2 separate regions of the Homo sapiens genome follow, and region 1 is linked to region 2. Evidence: promoter capture Hi-C in 16 types of primary human blood cells and fetal thymus (Javierre and others, 2016). All regions are on one chromosome and are shown on one strand. The core of a region is centred on a gene start or on the middle of the fragment in contact, and the rest is flanking DNA. Distances in the headings are between cores, read along the strand shown. Region 1 overlaps SGK1 (serum/glucocorticoid regulated kinase 1). Region 2 holds the start of MYB (MYB proto-oncogene, transcription factor).

Region 1 (3,726 bases), core at 1,052-3,551, 1.0 Mb after region 2:
AAATCACACAAGTGGACAGCTGCAGCACTGTGGTCTCTTTCTGGCAGGTCCCTGAAGGACAGTGCTGAAAAGATACCCGCACAGTGAGCAGAACCTCGAGCACCTGGTTGTTCATTTTGCTTGTAAGGAGAAATGGCCAGATATGCGATTATATACCAATTTATGGGCTGTGGCCAATAGTTTGGCTGGATGGTCAGAGACTTGGAAGGAACATGATTGGAAAATTGGTGACAAAGAAATTTGGGGAAGTGATCTGTGAATAGACCTCTCTGAATGAGCAAAAAAAAAAAGGTAAAGATATTTGTGTCCACATGAATTCTCAGCAAAGGGTGACCTCAGTAGAGGGGTATTTTAACAATCAAGTGGATAAGATGACCCATTCTGTGGATACCAAACAGCCCCTTTCCCCAACTACTCTTGCATCCAGTGAGCTCATAAACAAAGTAGCCATGGTGGCAAGGATGGAGGTTATGCATGGACTCAGCAACATGGACGTCCACTCACTAAGGCCAACCTGGCTACAGCCACTGCTGAGTGCCCAATCTGCCAGCAACAGAAATGAACACTGAGCCTCTGATATGGCACCTTTCCTCGGGGTGATCTGCCAGCCACCTGGTCGCAGGCTGATTATATTGGACAGCTTCCATCATGGAAGAAGCAGTGTTTTGTCCTTACTGCAGTAGACACTTATTCTGAATATGGATTTGCCTTCCTTGAACACAATGCTTCTGCCACAACTACCATCCATGGACTCCCAGAATGCCCTATCCCCTGTCATGGTATTCCACACAGACACAGCACTGCTTCTGATCAAGGAATACATTTTATAGCCAAAGAGAGGCAGCAATGGGCCCATGCTCCTGGAATTCACTGGTCTTAACCATGTTTCCCATCATCCTGGAGCAGCTGGGTTAATAGAATGAATGGTGTAATGGCCTTTTGAAGTTACGGTGATGATTTTTTTGCATGGCTGGTGCAAGGTTCTCCAGAAAGTTGTATATGCTCTGAATCAACATCCAGTATATGGTGCTGCTTCTCCCATAGCCAGGATCCACAGGTCCAGAAATGGAAGGGGTGGAAGGGGTGGAAATGGGAGTGGCACCACTCACTATTCCCCCTAGTGACCCATTGGAAACATTTTTGCTTTCTGTTCCCACGACTTTATGATCTGCAGGCCTGGAGGTCTTAGTTCCAGAGGGAGGAGTGCTTCCGGAGACACAACAATGATTCCATTGAACTGGAAGTTAAGACTACCACCCAGCCACTTTGGGATCCTCATGCCTCTGAATCAAAAAGCTAAGAAGGGAGTTATGATGTTGGCTGGAGTAACTGATTCAAAATACTAGGGAGAAATTGGACTACTATTCCACAATGGAGATAAAGAAGTGTATGTCTGCCAGGAACGGTGGCTCACACCTGAAATCCCAGAACTTTGGGAGGCCGAGGCGAGCAGATCATTTGAGGTTAGGAGTTCGAGACCAGCTTGACCTACATACTGAAACCCCGTCTGTACTAAAATACAAAAATTAGCCGGGCATAGTGGTGGGTGCCTGTAATCCCAGCTACTCGGGAGGCTGAGGCAGGAGAATTGCTTGAACCCAGGAGGCAGAGGTTGCAGCAAGCCGAGATCACACCCATGCACTCCAGCCTGGGCGACACAGTGAGACTGCGTCTCAAAAAAAAAACCAAAAAAAAAACCCAGAAGTGTATGTCTGAAATACAGGAGATCCCTTAGGATGTCTCTTAGTATTACCATGTCCTGTGATTAAGGTCAATGAGAAATTACAACAACTCAATCTGAGTAAGTCTGTGAATGGCCCAGACTCTTCAGAAATGTAGGTTTGGGTCACCTGCCACATAAAGAACCACAATCAACTGAGGTTCTTGTTGAAGGTAAAGGAAATATAGAATGGGTGGTAAAGGAAGGTAGTTATAAATACCAGCTATGATCACGTGACCAGTTACAGAACCAAGCACTGCAACTGTGATGAGTATTTCCTCCCTGTTTTGTTAAGAATATGTTGTGCGTCTATGTACATATATTAATATCTTTGTTTTCATTCTTCTCTTATGTCTTTATCATGTAACACATTTATTGACTTTATATCAGTATTTACAAGATTTATTGACTTTATGTCAGTATTTAAGTATTGTTAATTTTATATCATAGTATTTAAGTTATGGGATATCAGCAGAAGAGTAAACATCACCCAAGGACTTTACCTTCTCTTCTGGGGAAGGGACTGGTATGTTTTCTGTTGTACACAGAACAGGTGCATTATATTAGGTAGAATTATCACTTTGCTATTGTCTTTATTTGGAGATTAAGTGTGATACAAAGAGATGTGTAATGGCTGCCAAGTTGAAAGGTGAGAACGTGTGATGGTTAATTTTAAGTGTCAACTTGACTGGATTAAGGAATACGTAGAGAACTGGCAAAGCATTATTTTGGGGTGTGGCCTTAAGGGTGCCTCCAAAGGAGACTGATGTGTGAGTCTGGGTGGACTAAGTAGAAAAGACCCGCCCCCACTAATGCGGGGACAGGGGGGTGTGGGGGGTAGTGTCCAATCGCTTGGGAGCCTAGATAGAACCGTGGGTAGGTCACTCACTCTCCTGGAACTGGGATACATGCTTCTTCTCCGGCCTTCGGACATCAGGTTCTCCAGCCTTTGGCCTTTGGACGCTAGGACTTACACCAGCAGCCCCCGGATTCTCAGTTCTTCAGATTTGGACTGAGCCATGCTAGTGGCATCCCAGGGTCTCCAGCTTGCAGACAGCCTGCCATGGGATTTCTCAGCTTTCATAATTGTATGAGCCAATTCCCCTAATAAATCTCCTCTCTTCTCTTTCTCTTTCTCCATCTCTTTCTCTGTCTCCCTCTAGATATATCCTATTGGTTTTGTCTCTCCAGAAAACTAATACACACACACACACACACACACACACACACACACTCATAGAGATATGAAAGTGTAGTTTCATATCTTAACTTGGCACTAAGCATTTGTACCACTTGCATATGTGCTGTGGCTTTTGTCATTTCTGACAACCTGATGGCCATTCTGCTATGGCTTTAAAACTACTTTGTCCAGGCTGGGACTGCACAATAGGGGCCCTTTTATCAAGTCCTTATCATTGTGTAGAGAAGGCTATTTTGGGAGGATATAAAGGGATATAAAGTAGAAGGGGGTTGTGCTAAATGTTCATTCAGGCTTTCTGGCAATACAAAAATTATGGAGAACTTCATGGCTGCAAGACAGAAAGAAAACAGTCTATGAGGTGACTGTGTCATCCCCTGGCAGGAAGAAAAGTTCTAAAGTTCTTGAGGAAAGTTGGTTGGATGACAAGAGTAAAACAGGTTACAATGGCATACTTTTCTATAAGCCAAATTCATATGATATCGTCCATAGAGGGGGTTTAATGCAAACCATTATGAAAGCATTTTATTTCTCAAGCACTTCCTGTGGGCTAGGCCCTCTCCTGGGCACCAGGGATGATGTGGCAAATAATATAGATAATTATTCCGGCCAGGGTCGGTGGCTTATGCCTATAATCCCAGCACTTTGGGAGGCTTAGGTGTGCGGATCACTGGAGCCCAGGAGTTCGAGACCAGCCTGGCTAACACCGCAAGACCTCATCTCTACAAATAATATAAAATATAAGCCAGGCATGGTGGCACACACCTGTGGTCCCAACTACTAGAGAGGCTGAGGTGGGAAGATTGCT
Region 2 (3,577 bases), core at 45-2,544:
AAGGAGGGTGCGAGAAGGCGCGGCGACCTCAGCCGCATCCACGTGTGCGCGCCGCGCAGGGACCTTTCGCCTGGGGGCAGAGCCCGCGGGGATCGCGTCCCGGTTGCGCGGCAGCGGCCTTGGGTGCTGCCGGCCTCTGTCCCCTTGAGCCGAGTGGCGACTGCGACGGCTGCCGAGCTAGCCCTGGCACCCGCCGCTCGCAGGGAGCCCCGGCGTGTGCTGCTGGGAAAGTCCAGAGGCCGGTGGAGACTGGGGAACGAGCAACTGACAGTTCGGACGAGGATTTCCCTCCTCCTCCTCCTCTCCCTCTTCCCATCTGTCCGGCCAAAAATGTGAAGGGACTGCACCCATCTTCCCGGCGAGCCTCCCTAAGTGCAGTGACATGTGCGACGGCGGCGCGTGTGGGTGCGCGTGCAATGTTTGCAGTGGAAGTAAAAGCCTTTCAGAGAAAAATGATTCGAACCTCCAAAACCAGGTCTTAAGACAATTTGCAAAAGTAGAGACCCCTTTATCCCCCTAAAATCTGCTTTTCAGCCGCCTGTCAGCTGACACTGGTCCTCGCCTCCATAAAGAATGAATGAAATTTAAATGAACTACCTGCAGCTACTAAACAATCCAGCATTTTCCCTGTATCTGCCATATGCTCTGCACTTCCAAGTCCAAACATATCTCAATGCATCCAGCAATTACGCTGCGGATCCCTCGCCGACACCCGCGGCATCAAGCCAGGCACCTGGTGGGCTCCCCGGGGCTGGTGGGCACCGCTCTGCCCTCGGCTGGAACGTGCTTTCTTTTTCCCCCTAAAGAAAAATGTATCCCCATGCAACTTGCAAAATGAGCCGCAGGGCGTGCTTCCCAACGTCCGGATACATTTCCCGCAAAGACTCTTCCATTCATCAGTCTCTGGAGCGGCTTCTGCTGCCGAGGCAGGGGCTCCAGGTCCTCGGAGGGTCTGACAGCCCCTCAGATGATCCCGGAACGAATTCCCACCTGCTCCCGGGAGCCTGGCGCCCCGCGCGCCCCCGCGCGCCCCCGCCCTCGGCCGCCCGCCCGGCTCCCCGTTACCTGTGCCGGGGTCTTCGGGCCATGGCGCGGCGGGCGCGGGGCTCCGCCGAGAGCCGCGGGGACCGCACCGGGCTGCCGCCTCCCGCTGCCCGCCGCCTGCCTGCGTCCCTCCCCGGCTGCGCAGCGGCGCTCCGCACCGCTGGGGCGAAGTTTCTCAGGAGAAAGAGGAGGAGGAGGTCACGGAGGAGGAGGAGAAGGAGGAGGAGGAAACAGGTTGATATTAAAGTGTAAACTCTGTAAACAGAGATGCCATCAAACAAAGAGCTTTGGACACTCCCCCTCCCGCCAAATCTGGCGCCCCTGCAGTGCGCACGCGCCCTGCCCGCCGCCTCCGCGGTCGCCCTGGCTGCCGCCCGCGGGGCTGCCGGGCTGGCCGGGTCGCCGCTCCCATTCGGCGCTCGCGCCGCCGCGGTGCGCCTAGCGCGCCGCGAGGCCCGGGAGGCGCGCGGGCAGGGAGCCCGGGGCCAGGGAGGGGTGGCCGGGGGCCGCGACGGCGCCTTTTCCTGAGCAAACCCCGCTCCCGGGTCGCGGCGGCGCCGACCCGCGCCCAGTCCCGCCGCCTCCCCTCCTCCCTGGCTGCCGCACCGCGGTCGCCCGGCTCCGCGTGCTCCCGGGCAGCGGGACCAGAGCTCCTCCAGCTCCCACTCACTGTCGCGGGGGCGGCAAGCGGTGGGGGGAAATTCCCGCACAGAAGATTGGATTTTCGTCAAGGTTTACAACTGTGCCCTCTGGAGACGGGGAAATTAGGAGTTGGAGGAGTAGGGGATGTGAGCATATGTATTCATAGGCTGTTTGGCTAGGGTTTTTTTTCCTTCTTCTTAAATAAATAACATCTCTAATTTAACTTGTTAGTGACAAAGGACGCTTCAATACAAGTGGGCGGCAACCATCACCGCTCACTAATGGAGCGCCCCAGCGGAGCTTTCACTCCCCTCCCGGATCCTGCAGCCGCCACCGTCGTATTGTCACATGTCCTTCACTCTCACCCCAGCACACACCCGGGCCCCACCCACCCCGCCCCGCCCGGCCCAGGCGGTGCCCACCGCACACCTTTGCTCCCCTCCCTGCACAGAGCGCGCACCCTGGATTGCACACCTGCAAAAAAAAAAAAAAAAAAAAAAAAAAAAAAAAAATACACGGGGGTCCAGACAGCCCGCCCCTAGCAGAACTCAGGAAACCCCACGTTTGCATGCATGGTTTTAGAAGTAAAACAGTTTGTGATTTTGGAGGTCGGTATCCCTGCTTAGTGTCATTTGAGGGCTCTATTTTACGAGATAAAAGTCAGCAAAGGCTTTCGTGTTGTTTAATGAGGGTCTCCAGAAGTAAAGGAAGAAGATAAGTGCTGAATTTATAAGGATTGATGACTGGGGGGATTTTAGGGGAGTTTTAGTTTTACTTCCGTTTATAGATTAGAACCATTGGGGATTTTTTTTTCATTCTCTGTACACACTAATGTATTTTTCCTTTAATCTTTTAGGAGTTTGAGACTTCTGCTGACTGGGTTTGTGGGTGTCCCATGTGCCCCAGCAGTTCAAACTTAGCTCAGAAAGCATTTTTTCTTACTAAAAAAGCATGTTCTTACTAAAATGAGTCATAATTTTATTAAACGGTGAAGCATGCGAGGTTTCAAGACTATCTGGTGTTTTAGACTTTCTTTAAAATTGTTATATAGTTTAAATCTTTATCAAGTGTTAGTTGCTAGTAAGGTTTTAACATTCCTTTCCTCCTGAGAAGAAAATAACACTGAAACAAAATTATTGTGAGATATTTCGGATCACAATTACAAAGGACAAGGCAAATTAATACTTTTAAAGCCAATATTTATTTCTAGATTCTATAATAATTTTCTTTCTTCACATCAAAAATAAACAAAATCTTTTAAAAATATCTAGAATAAACATCTAGAAACCACCCCTAAAGAAATTGCATTCTGGCTTTCGGATTGCTTTATGAATCTAACTGGCAAGATTCCCAATTGCTGAGTCTCTTGGACACAATGTGAGTATCTGAACCCTTTGTGAAGTGAGTTCATAGCCTCTTTTTCAAGATTTTAGGAGGTGTGTAACTACTCCTAAGTTCTTGAACCCCTTTAAAGTAGAAAGATACTAAGTTCAGTTTTCCTTTTTTTCTTTGTAAATCATTTTCCTATGTATCATTTTGAGAATTTATAATTTTTCATTTCCCAGATATAGTTTTACATTTTTCCCTCAGTTGTATGACAATAATATGTTTGGGAATATGCATAGTCCAATAAAGAATTCACATGCAGTAATTTTATTAGGCTAATGTTGGATATATTGCTATCTGATAAGCTTATGGAAAAACAGAATCAAATGGAGTTATCAAAATTCTTGTATGGATGAAACTATATTTTTAAACTCATTACAGAATGTTTGTATTTATACATTTTCTCTCTCCATTTATAATTATTACAAAAGTATTTTTAGATGACAACTTTACACATTTCATCACTTTTTTTTTTAAGATCTGCTTGCTACATCAGTTATTTCAG

The links. The method cuts DNA at HindIII sites, captures the fragments that hold promoters and counts their contacts. A CHiCAGO score of 5 or more calls a contact.
Region 1: a contact is called between a fragment that was not itself captured here and the fragment with the promoter of MYB in region 2, in 1 of 17 cell types (fetal thymus). The highest score is 5.3, in fetal thymus.

The regions. Positions count from the first base shown.
Region 1 is chr6:134,184,784-134,188,509 of GRCh38, reverse strand. All of the region lies in intron 3 of SGK1 (serum/glucocorticoid regulated kinase 1), which reads left to right. Among named protein-coding and RNA genes, the nearest start is that of SGK1, 130 kb to the left of the region's middle. The HindIII fragment of the contact is 6,291 bases long and covers 1-3,726 here.
Region 2 is chr6:135,179,025-135,182,601 of GRCh38, reverse strand. It overlaps MYB (MYB proto-oncogene, transcription factor), which reads right to left and starts at 1,294. Exons shown (of 16, transcript NM_001130173.2): 1 at 1,066-1,294. The coding sequence starts at 1,088. RefSeq lists silencers at 47-126, 1,176-1,225, 1,286-1,505, 1,576-1,625, 2,066-2,175. The HindIII fragment of the contact is 5,797 bases long and covers 1-3,379 here.